Linked DNA regions of Homo sapiens: all the other regions are linked to region 2. Evidence: promoter capture Hi-C in 16 types of primary human blood cells and fetal thymus (Javierre and others, 2016). All regions are on one chromosome and are shown on one strand. Each heading gives the region's core, a stretch centred on a gene start or on the middle of the fragment in contact. The rest is flanking DNA. Distances are from core to core; before and after follow the strand shown. Region 1 overlaps ARHGAP42 (Rho GTPase activating protein 42). Region 2 holds the start of ARHGAP42 (Rho GTPase activating protein 42). Region 3 overlaps ARHGAP42 (Rho GTPase activating protein 42).

Region 1 (4,274 bases), core at 694-3,193, 280 kb before region 2:
AATATAAAGACAATACAGAAGGGCTGTTCTGAAATGTTAGCATTATTACATAAACACAAGCCCAACAGATTTTTAGCCCATAATGACAACGGTAAATGTAAAATGTAAGAACTCATTTATGGCAAGTGTCGTCTGCCAAGTCAAAGCTAAGATGTTGACATGTCTGCTGGAGAAATGTCTAACATTTCAGAACAAGAAAGCTTCACTTAACATTCTCTTACTGCAGCAAATAAATTCTGGGATGATTGCCCACTATACCAAATTCTTTCTCCAGAAAGTACCTTGACTCATAGGATTCACATTATGGGACTACCATTTCATCTGGGCGCAGTTATTTAGACATGGAGTGAGGAAAGAGCCTGGCTCAGGCTAAACATGAGGTCTAACCTAGCAATTGGAATGGAGACATCAAAAATCTGATCTTTCCGCATATGTGAAAAGGCAGATAATGTAAAATCAGGGCTGAAGTGACCAAATCTACTCCAAGAAAATCTGACTGGGAAGGAAAGTGAGAATGATAGAAATACAGTAGAGAACAAAGATGAGAGATCCTCCAGAAAGAGTGAGTAGAGAAATGTCAAATCCCAACTTGGCAGTTCCTGGTTGCAGGCTCATGGAAACCCTGACCTCTGTTCTGCCAAGGAATTCACTGAAATATCTCTTAGGATCTGAATAACTTCCCCTTTATACTGAGCTGGACTTTTGCTGCTTGAAACCAAATAACCTAATTTTCTTAACTTCACATCTAGTAAATATGGCTATGTTAGGTCCAGACAAAAGATGAGTTCTTATATATAAGATATATAAGATATTTTAAATATCATAGTCATGAATATTATTATAATAATATAATCATCATTTGCCACAGAAGCAAATGGAGAAAAAACTTGTGACCAAAAGCTTGACTAAAACAATAAGCTCATTGAGCCATTTTAGCCAAGTAGCTCAAATTTCTTTTGTTATAAAGCAAAATTTCTGTAAGAAAGGGTTCTGGGTTAAGAGTAAAAAGAACAAAAAACAGGCTTGCAGCCCTGATTTTGCCATGAATTTATTAGGGTCATTGTACATGTTACTTGCCCACTTTGTGTCCTGATTTCCTAGTTCATAGAATGAGAGGTCAGATTATATATTTTTTCTGGTCCTGTATGTCTTACAAAGATTTCTATGAAGAGGAGGTAGAGTGGAGAGCTTCAAGAGAAAACTAAATAGTGTAGATTTATATGAGATCATGTGGTTAGTCATAAATGCTGGATTGAAAACCGAGGTCATTCAACTTTATCTGACACTTTTATCAGCACACATTTCCTGTGACATTACAATGTGTGCAAATAAACTAAAGCAACTAATTTATTTCTTGGATTGTGAAAAATAATCTGGTTGTAGTCACACCTCATACATCTTAACAATGAAATGCCAGCTCTTAATTGTTACAGGTTGTTGTGATGGGCTCAGATGGTACCTGGCACTTCAGTCTCAATGGTTTACAAATACACGTTACTAACTTCTCAGATAACATATGTCAACTCTTCCTGCTAATATTTTAAATTGATCTATCTATTCATATCATATGACGGCAATCACAGATCTAAACAAATGACATAAATGTGATCATTGCAAATAAAATATGAGGGAGAGGGGATTGATGGAAGCACCTGCTGTCTGCCAAAAATATTTGACTCATCTCCAGATTGAGGAATACAGCACATGAGCATGTGCAGGGACATAATCGTCTGTACGTATTTAGAGTCCTGCTTAGTTGCTCTTAAAAGAAACTGGTATTTGTCATTCAAATAAAATGAAATTAGAATAATAATTCCTCATGGTTCTTTATAATCACCACACTTACCCAATGAGGTCTCACTAAGTGTCAAAATATTTCAGTTAATTCTGCAATTTCTTATTGGCTTCTAAAACACATTATAAATTACTAAATATCAGATTAACAACTTTTTTCTTTTTTTTAATTTGAGATGGAGTTTCGCTCTTGTTGCCCAGGCTGGAGTGCAATGGCGCGATCTCGACTCACCATAACCTCCGCCTCCTGGGTTCAAGTGATCCTCCTGCCTCAGCTTCCCGAGCAGCTGGGATTACAGGCATGTGCCACCATGCCCAGCTAATTTTGTATTTTTAGTAGAGACAGGGTTTCTCCATGTTGGTCAGGCTGGTCTCGAACTCCCGACCTCAGGTGATCCGCCAGCCTTGGCCTCCCAAAGTGCTGGAATTACAGGTTTGAGCCACCGCACCCGGCCCAGATTAACAACTTTTTAAGCAATACTTGAAAAAAATCTTCACTAGCTGATACTAGTAATATATGCCTAAGTATGGCAGCATAAAACTACATCAATTATAATGTGTATATGATGCAAGTATACTTACTAACAGCAATGATAAAATCTTTGTGCAACTTGTAAGTCATCAGTGGTTCTGCAAGGCACCTACAACAGAGAAAGGAAACACATGTTAGAATAGTAGAATCTTTTATTCTCCCCTAAACGTTAAGTGTTTCTTTAAGAATTAGGTGACTGTTATTCATCAATTAAAAATAAAATAACACATAAATAAGTAAATAAAAGAATTGGGTGATTTGGCAGTATGATAAAGTTCCAGTAGTGGGGCCACAGAGAGACCTGAAACGCAGACCTCGAAGACACCAATGTACTTCTTTCCATGACTGTATTAAGAGGGGAGACTGGGAGTCTCCCAATATCAGAATTACCTTACCAGAGGAACAAATATGGGAACAATAGTTAAAAAACAAAACAAAAACAACACAACTTTCCATTCCAATTTGTTATTTAAAAAAGTACATAAAAATCCCATATACATATGGGACAACAAATACTAATTCAGTACTCAAAATATTATATAGCCTTTTAAATTATTATTGAAAAAATCAAGTACAAGTTCCAGAACACTAAATGTAAATGTTACCATGTCATGCTATTTCACCTTATGTAAGGGAACTGAGCTACTGAGTGAAGCTTCTGGACACAGGCTCCAAGAAATCACGTGGTTACTACTCAAGGGGTGAGTCAGAGATTACATCCAGAGTACCAGGAGTTAAACCCTCCTCACCTGAGGTAGTTTTTCAGCCCACTTGTTATCGTCTTATTGTCCCACAGTTCAATATCAATATCAATATCAGGAGGGGATTTAGGAGCTGGAAAGAATAAAACAAGGTGTTTAAATTGTGCAGTTCAAAATATTTCTTATGCAATTATGAAAAATGGGCACAAACGTAAGTAGGTCAAAAGAGAGAGGTATTCATTTCTTAGAATGCCAAGAGTTAACATTAGTACTGTTGTTTGCGTGAATTGATAAAAAGCTGACACTAAACCTCAAAGATATATCTTATGAAATAAGTCTCCCAAATGAAATTATTGCTAATTGTTAACATGACAGAGCACTTACCATGTGCCTAGCATGCTTCTAAGTGCTTTACGGAGATTAACATAGTCAATCCTCACAACTCTTAAGAGGCAGGTACCATTATTATCCCTATTTTTATAAATGAGGAGGCTGAGACACAAAGACGTTAAGCAAATTACTCAAGGTCACAAAACCTGTAAGTGGCTGAGCTAGGATTCCAAATGACTCCAGCTAGCATCCATGCATCTTATTGTATCTCTAGCTTACCAAAGGACACTTGGGGAAAAAAAATACAGTATTATAAAAATGCCCCCTCAAATTCTCATCGTTCATCTATTATAAATGAACATTAAAAACTGAATACATATATGAACTTTAAATATTATTTGAAAATATTCAAAGACAAGCACTAGTCAAAGAAGTCCATACTTTAGATTACCTATAAGAACACAAAAATTATGTAAGTTGCTTCATCCAAAACTTACAAAATGTGGTATTCATGAGTTTTTGAACTTTGGAGTTCACTCCTCCTATTCGGTAGAGTCCTAAAATGGTGATACCTAATAGGAAGGAAAATCACAAGAAAACGGCTTGAGATACAGCTTGGCAAGTACAGAATGTTAAAAACTCAGACATATGCCTAACAAAATTTGAAAGCTACTTATCCAATTTCACAGTCTAACTTTAGCAAAGCTATCCTGGAAATACCCATCAGACTTCTATTTCTCAGAGCAGACACTGAACAGTGATTTGAAAGTCTTTGAAGATCTTCAAAGTAGCAAAGTGTAGCTGCCTATTCACCATTATTTGAATATAAAAAAGCAATGGAGATGGGAAGGGATGATCGATATTACTCATATTCTATTTCTTCAGAGTCATGGAGTCCTCCTGCATGTTGAAAAGTC
Region 2 (4,097 bases), core at 1,151-3,650:
ATTAAGTGCATAAGCCAAATTAATGATGCAGGGCCTATATCTTCAAAGAGCCTACGCTCCCAAGATTTCTTCACTTATGAATGGAAGAACAAAACTATAATGATGGGAATCACCTGACTTTTACAAAGCTAGATTCAACCATCATAATAAAGTATGTAATGTCACTCGTAATATAATGTACATGTCAGAGCATTTATCACAGGTATGTAAGTATTTTGACCTTCTGAAACACTAAAGTTTATCTCAAGCAGAGCGGGGAGAAAAATGTAGAATATCTGGCACCTCCAACAAGAACTGGCTTGGCATTTGACACTCTGAGATGCAGCTCTTTTTGAAGAGGCATCATGCTCTCTTAGATGCAAAGAGGTTAGTCCCGCGAGACTTTAACCAGGATTTGCAAGCCAGAGGAAGGACAGTTCACATTAGTGTTTATGTAGGGTGGCAAGAATTGCAGACAAACTATATTTTTCACAAATCACAGTAAATACCATTATTAGTAGTAGCCTCAAATTCAGAAATTAAGTGAATATGGGCATAAAATATATTATCTTTACCTTGGTTAAGTAACACAAGTGGTTAAGTAAATGTTTTAACATTTGGGATGATTAAAAGATATTTTGGAGCACATTAATTTCAAGACATCTTGCTAAGCTCTCTCCTTACTGTTAATACATGTTTCAAAATATAGATCCGATACTAGTATTGTCTCAGTTTTAGGCGCACACATCCCTATCATGTTGTTATACAAAGATGATGCCCCCATATATGTCCTGGGGGTAACTAGATCACCCAAAGGTCTCTCTACCTTTTGAAAGTACCTCACTCACCCAGCTTTAAGTGACCAGAGATTCCACGGCTTCATTTCAGTAGCTAAAACATCCAGAAGCCTCTATTAAGATGCAAATACTTTTCACAGGCTCCTTTGAAGATGGAAAATAAATAAATACATAAATAAATAAAAATAAATTTTTTAAAAGATGCAAATACCTCCTGGGAAAGGTAACAAGCCATATCATGTAATTGTGCTCAATTCTCTGTAAGAGAAACTCTTCAGTTTCAGATACTCTTAGGTCTTAGGAATTGAAAGCTAAGATCCAGAGGATAAAAGGAGGAAGGAAAATTTGATCAAGAGGTGTATGGGAAAGGAGGTGGAAGAAGCCCTATATTATAGACTATAACAGTCTTTATATTCTACAGATCATCAAAAGTTCTGATTGGCCTTTAACCCCTTAACTTTCATCCCAATGACACACCCAACACCCACACAATGCAAACCAAAACTAAGACGCACAGAAAACTTGCAGAGTTAAAATGCACTGGTGCCTTGCTGTCTTCCATTATCTTACAAAATGGCAAAACTGCAAATGTATGCTTTTTAAAAAGCCAACTCAATGACTGTGTCCAATGAAGAGCCACTGACGTATGAGAGACATTAATAATTTTCTTTCAATATCACTAAACTAGCCTAATTTTATCTTTAAGACAAACTCTTGATTCCCCCCTTAAGGGCTTTTTTAGTTCAAACTATTAATAGACACAATAAATTAAAAAAAAAAAATTAAAGTCCCCAACATCTTCCTAGGAGCATTACACAACGAGATGACTTTGAACGACTTTCCTCAGGATATATTCCAGTGCCCTGTAGAGAACTTTCCCCATCCCTGTAGACATGTGAGTAAGTAAAGAACACCTCAAGAACAAACTTTGTTGGCCACCAGCAGGGGAGCTCTTCAGCTTTTGTCCCCAAATCCATTCAAACAAAAGAAGCTCCGACTCCTCCAACCCACCCTTCGGACCCGCACCCCGCGGGGACTCTCCAGATGCGGGTGTCCACTCCCCCGCCAGCCCTACTTACTCCTCAACGCCCCAATGAGCAGAGAGCCGTCCTTAATGAGCTCCTTGATGAACTTGTTGGTTCGCTCCAGCTCAATCTCGTGACACTGCAAGCGCTCCCTGAAATCTGGGCTGTCCAAGTAGGAATCGCTGAACTCCAGAGTGGGCAGCCCCATGGCACAGGCGCTGCCAGCGGCGGCCGCGGACACGTCCGGGCCGGAGGTCAGGGCGGGGGCAGCCGGCGGCCGCGGCGGGCGCTGGGGTCGCGCGATCGCGGGGAAGGCGCCGGGACGCGAGGGGACTGATTGCGCGGAGGAAACGGGCCCCGAGCGCCGCGCCGCCTGCGCCGGGCTCAGTCTTCCTCCCCCGAGGCTAGGCGAGCGCAGGCGCGGGCGGCGGGCCGAGGCGCGAGTCCCCTCAGGTTGTTGTCATCTGGACGCATCGTCGTTCGGAACGCGGGGGCGGCGAGGCTCCGGGCCGCGGCCGGAGCAGGAAAGTTTCTCTCACGGCGCGCAGACACTTCCGGCAGTTCCACTCCCCAACTCTCTTGACAGTCGTCGGCGTTGTGAGCCAGAAGCAGCGCACAGCCGCAACTCCGGCCGGGCTGGGGAAACCCTCCCCCTCGGCGGACGCAGGCTCAGAGCGCTTGCAAATCGCACCCGGGCTCCCAGACCCTCCTCCCCGCCGCCGCGCTCCCACCCAGCGCCACCCCGCCCCTTCGCCCCTTTGCCCTCCTGCCCCACCCGTCCGCCCGCACTGGGCTCCAGGGCTCCCCGCGCTGCAGCCCCGCGCTTGCGCTCCGGCCTTGGCTGGGGTGTTAGCCCTGTCCCCTCTTGGGCCCCTGGTTTCGGCTAGCCCTTGGTGACACTTCGGGGTCCCTCGCTCCACAAAAGGATCTGACTCCCAATATACCTCCCCTAACAGTGTCCCCTCCACCCACTCCCTACAATTCTCTGGGAGAAAAACCAACGTTAAGTTTCCCTAAAGTCTGAGTATTTTGAAGCGTAGATGGAAGATACTACTGTCTAGCGTTCGTTTAGATTTTACTTCACACTTCCCCACCGAATGCATTTGAATTCCACGTTGAAAAATTGTCCCGTCGCTCTCCCACCCCTCAGCTTCAATGATCCAGCCTGGAGGTGTTTCTTCCCCCTGCCCCCACTCCATAGCTGGGAAGGTGGGACGATTTTTCAAGTCATCCTCACTCTGCTTACGTGCTCCTACTTCTAGTAGAATACCTATTTGCATCACAATAGTAGTATCTCCTATTGGCACCTGGATGGAATTGTCCTAGGAGCGGGAAAATTTTCAAATTGTTGAAGTGGACTGGAGTTTGAAATAAATAGTTAACTCCTACCCACAGGCTTTATCCTTCCTCCGGTGGAGGTTCACCTAATAAATTTCTGTTCTCTTAAAACCTTGACAGCAAAAGAAACGACTGCTTTACATCTCGTCCTGACATCATCTATAGGATTTCTGAGAACTCGGATATTGTTCTTAAGGATCTGCTTTTAATTTCTGCATTTTCATTGCTTTGTCCATATGAACCATCTGTTTAAAAACTATTCTACAGATCATGGGAAAAATTCCACTAAAGTGCTTTACATTTTTCCCAATTAAGTTTCAGAGCCAGTCAAGATTCTTGGTTTCAATTTTTTAAATGTACAGGAACATTAAAAATAACATGTAAACCTAAAACAGATAAGATAATGTAAACAGTATGGGCCAGGCGCAGTGACTTAACGCCTGTAATACCAGCATTCTGGGAGGCTGATGCAGGAGAATCACTTGAGGTCAGGAGTTGGAGACCATACTGGCCAACACGGTGAAACCCAGTTTCTACTAAAAAATACAAAAATTAGCTGGGCCTGGTGGCGCACGCCTGTAGTCCCAGCTACTTGGGAGGCTGAGGCAGGAGAGTCACTGGAATCCGGGAGGCGGCGATTGCCATGAGCCGAGATTACGAGATTACTCCACCGCACTCCAGCCTGAGTGACAGAACGACTCCATCTCAAAACACCTTCCATCCATATTCACATCTTTGGCCCCATATTGGCAAAATGACCAGTCACTATTAGAGCCATTTTAACTCCAAGTGTTAAATTTGTTTTTGTTAACTAAATACTCTTCAATTTTTTTTTTCTTTTGCAGGTTTGGGGAAGGGAGAGGCAGTAATTCTGTTTGTCAGTTAATGAAATGACATGACATAAACACCAGTGGACTGTGTCTCACCAGAGGTGATTTTGTATTTACTCATTACTCTG
Region 3 (4,048 bases), core at 1,523-4,022, 260 kb before region 2:
AAGGGAGAAAACTAGCATATGGAGGAAAAGATATAAAATATTAGAAACAAAGGAATTAACTTAGTTAAACAGAAAATTGAGGGATCTGTGAAGAACATTCAGATGGAAATTTTATTATAAATATTTTATAATTAAAAACCTGGAATGACAAATAATAACATACATCTCTTCTGCAAACAAGAACACAGATCATGAGAATCTTGAATATATATCAAGATAATCTGATGTTGGAGAATTTAAGCCAGTGTAGTAATACCAAAAATAAAATATTGAAAATCAGTATTTGTTGGATATTTACTATGTGACAGGCACTGTGTTATGTTTCCTTAATTCTCTCATTTAATCCTGAAAACAATTCTTTGAGGTGGGTACTTATTATCCTTAATTTAAAGATGAAAAAACCTAAGTACAGAGTTTAATAAAGTGCTCCAAGGTTATATAACCGGAATGTGTTAAGACAAAGCATTAACATGTTGGTATTTGTCTACATAGAAAATCCAGAAATATCTACACAAAACTATTAAAACTAATAAATAGTTCAGCAAATAGGTCAGATAAGAGAATTATATATAAATAAACTAACAGCCTCTTTATGCAGTAGTCTTAACCATTTAGGAAAACAAAATTCAACTCATAAAGAAGAATCCTATTCAAAACAACAATAAAAAGAAGGTACTCAAAAGTAAATTTGAAAAAAGATATGTAAAATATTCAAAAAGAGGTTAATTCCACACCCATTGAAGACTTTACTGCAACTTCAGTCAAAATCCCAAAAGATATTTTGAGAAACAAGGAGAAACTTAGTAAGTGGATCTTAAAAATCATAAGAACACAGAGCAAAAGAGTCAACACAGTTTACAGCAGCCTAGGAATACAGTCATTGCCCTACTAGATACAGGCAAACCTTGATGTATTTCTCTTTGCTTGATTGAGCTTTGCAGATACTGCATTTTTAACAAATTGATGGTTTGTTTGTGTCAACCCTGTGTTCTGCATGTCTATCAGCACCATTTTTCCAAGAGCGTTTGCTCACATCGTGTCTCTGTATCACATTTTGGTGATTCTTGCAATATTTGGAATTTTTCATTGTTATTATATCTATCATGTGATGTATGAACAGTGATCTTTGATATTACTATTGTCATTATTTTGGGGTGCCATTAACCATGTCCACATAAGATGGCAAACAGTCAATAAAAGTTGTGTGTGCCACTGCTCCACTGACTGGCCATTTCCCCATCTCTTTCCCTCCCCTTAGCTTCCCTATTCCCTGAGATACAACAATATTAAAATTAGTCCAATCAATAATCTCACAATGACCTCTAAGTGTTCAAGGGAAAGGAAGATTCACATGTCTCTCATGTTAAATCAAAAGCTATAAATGACCAAACTTAGTGAGAAAGACATGTTGAAACCCAAGATAGCCTAAAAACTAGGTCTCTTGTGCCAATCAGTTAGCCAAGCTGTGAATGCAAAGGAAAAATTATTAAAGGAAATTAAAAGTGCCACTCCAGTGAATACACAAACGCTAGGAATCAAAACAACCTTACTACTGACATGGGGAAAGTTCTAGTGGTGTGTATAGAAGATCAAACCAGCCATAACATTCTCTTAAGCCAATGCCTTTTCCACAGCAAGGCCCTGACTGTCTTCAATTTTATGAAGGCTGAGAGAGGTGAGTAAGCTGCAGAAAAAAAGTATGAACCTAGCAGAAGTTGGTTCATGATGTTTGAGGAAAGAAGCCATTTGCATAATATAAAAGTATAAGATGAAGCAGTAAGAGTTGATGTAGAAGCTGCAGCAAGTTATACAGAAGATCTAGCTACAATCATGGATGAAGGTGGCTACAGTAAACAACAGATTTTCAATGTAGATGAAATAGCCTTCTGTTGGAAGATGCCCTCATTTAAGACTTCCACAAATAGAAAGAAGTCACTATCTGGCCTCAAAGCTTCAAATAGGCTGACTCTTGTTAGAGGTTAATGTAACTGGTGACTTAAAGTCAGAGCCAATGTTCATATATCATTCTGCAAATCCTAGGGTTCTTAAAAATTATGCTAAATCTACTCTACCTGTGCTCTACAAATGGAACAATAAAGGCTGAATGACAGCACATCTGTTTACAGTAAGGTTTACTGAATATTTTAAGCCACTGTTGAGACCTTCTGATTAAAGAGGTTTATTTCTAAATATTACTGCCCATTGACAATGCAACTAGTCACCCAAGAGTTCTGATAGAGATTTAAATGGAGAATAATATATTCATGCCTGCTGACACAACATATATTATGTAGCACATGGATCAAGGAATAAGAGGAATAAGTTAGACTTCTGAGTCTTATTATTTAAGAAACACATTTCATTAGGCTTTCACGGCCATAAGTAGTGATTCCTCTAATGGATCTGGGTAAAGTACACTGAAAACCTTCTAGAAAGGATTCATCACTTTAGATGTCATTAAGAACATTTGTCCCTCGTGGGAGGAAGCCAAAATATCCACATTAACAGCAGTTTGAAAGAATTGATTCCAACTCTCAGGGATGAGTTGGAGGGGTTCAAGACTTCAGTGGAGGAAGTTACTGCAGATGTAGTGAAAATAGCAAAAAAGCTAGAATTAGAAGTGGAGCCTTCTAGAAAATGTGACTTTATTGCTGCAATCTCATAATAAAACTTGAAAGGACTAGTTGCTTCTTATGGATGGGCAAAGAAAGTGGTTTACTGAGATGGAATCTTCTCCGGGTGAAGATGCTATAAACGTTTTTGAATGACAACAACGGATTTAGAATATCATATAAACTTAGCTGACAGTGCAGTAGGGCAGGGTTTGAAAGGACTGACTCCAATTTTGAAAGACGCCCTACTGAGTAAAATGCTATCAAACAGCATTGCATGGTACAGAGAAATCTTTGTTGAAATGAAGATTCAATTGATGTGGCAAACTTTATTGCTGTCTCATTTTAAGAAAATGGCCACAGCCACCCCATCCTTCAGTAACCACCATGCTGATCAGTTAGCAGCTACCAACATCGAGGCAAGATCCTTCACCAGCAAAAAAATTACTACTCACTAAAGACTCAGATGACCATTCACATTACTTAAAATATTTTAAGGGATGTATATTTTTTACACATAATGCTATTGCACACTTAATGGACTGCAGTGTAGCATAAACATAACTTTTATATGCACCGAGAAACTCAGAAATTTCTGTGACTCAGTTTATTATGATATTCGCTTTATTACAGTGGTTTGGAACCTAACCTGCAATATCTCTGAGGTATGCCTGTAGCTATAGGCTGTAGTTTATGAGCATATATAGAAAGTCATCATATACAAAGGGTATACATGGATACACACAATAAGCTAGTGTATTTAGAATATTGTGGCACTAATGCAGGAGAAGAAAGATAGATCATGGATTACAGAGCAGAGAGCAAGAAGCATACCCATTCTTATTGTAAACTTAAATTATACACTTAGATTCACGACATTTATATCTCTTCCAATACTTTGGGCTAAGAATACCCGGAACAGTGCTTTGCACACAGGAGGCATCCTGGAGGCATTAAACTTAGTTGGCTGAAAGAAGCTTATAGTATTCCCACCTGCATCTTATTCCTTAGAAGCAAGGCCACCAAGCTTCCAAAGCCCACCAAAAGGCTGATCCTGGAGCCATGAAATATGCCATTGGATTCCTTCATGATGATGGGGACCATGAGGCCACTACATGCACTTTCTCCTAATACAGTCATTTATATTGATTTTTCAGATTCTGCTTTGAGTGATGCTACTGTTTTCTAGCATCATGGATCTGATTTGCTTTTTCGAAAGCATCATGTAATAACAACATGAAAGAAAGAGATAAACATGTATACTGTTTTTTAAAAGACTAAAAAACACTTGAATGCTGTTTCATGTTTATATTTAAATACAGAAAGAGACACCGTTTAGCTTATGAAAAAAATAAAGTGAAAAGAACAGCTCAAACCTTTCAACTACTTCTATGTCAAAGCAGAATCGTTTGTCAATTGAATCTGTCTTTCGTCGG

Evidence for each region. Contacts are between HindIII fragments. The CHiCAGO score rates a contact against its expected background, and 5 or more counts as called.
Region 1: a fragment that was not itself captured here is called in contact with the fragment with the promoter of ARHGAP42 in region 2 in 1 of 17 cell types (erythroblasts); the score reaches 5.6 in erythroblasts.
Region 3: a fragment that was not itself captured here is called in contact with the fragment with the promoter of ARHGAP42 in region 2 in 2 of 17 cell types (endothelial precursors and total B cells); the score reaches 6.9 in endothelial precursors.

The regions. Positions count from the first base shown.
Region 1 is chr11:100,960,570-100,964,843 of GRCh38, reverse strand. ARHGAP42 (Rho GTPase activating protein 42) reads right to left here. Exons shown (of 24, transcript NM_152432.4): 14 at 3,855-3,929; 15 at 3,076-3,160; 16 at 2,377-2,435. Among named protein-coding and RNA genes, the nearest start is that of SNORD13I, 28 kb to the right of the region's middle. The HindIII fragment of the contact is 2,081 bases long and covers 903-2,983 here.
Region 2 is chr11:100,685,591-100,689,687 of GRCh38, reverse strand. ARHGAP42 (Rho GTPase activating protein 42) reads right to left here and starts at 2,400. Exons shown (of 24, transcript NM_152432.4): 1 at 1,856-2,400. The coding sequence starts at 2,009. ARHGAP42-AS1 (ARHGAP42 antisense RNA 1) reads left to right here and starts at 1,733. Exons shown (of 2, transcript NR_133571.1): 1 at 1,733-2,055; 2 at 3,985-4,097. RefSeq lists enhancers at 1,636-2,005, 2,326-2,375, 2,089-2,799 and silencers at 2,026-2,195, 2,496-2,685, 2,736-3,030. The HindIII fragment of the contact is 7,960 bases long and covers 1-4,097 here.
Region 3 is chr11:100,943,809-100,947,856 of GRCh38, reverse strand. ARHGAP42 (Rho GTPase activating protein 42) reads right to left here. Exons shown (of 24, transcript NM_152432.4): 10 at 3,989-4,048. Among named protein-coding and RNA genes, the nearest start is that of SNORD13I, 12 kb to the right of the region's middle. The HindIII fragment of the contact is 1,638 bases long and covers 1,954-3,591 here.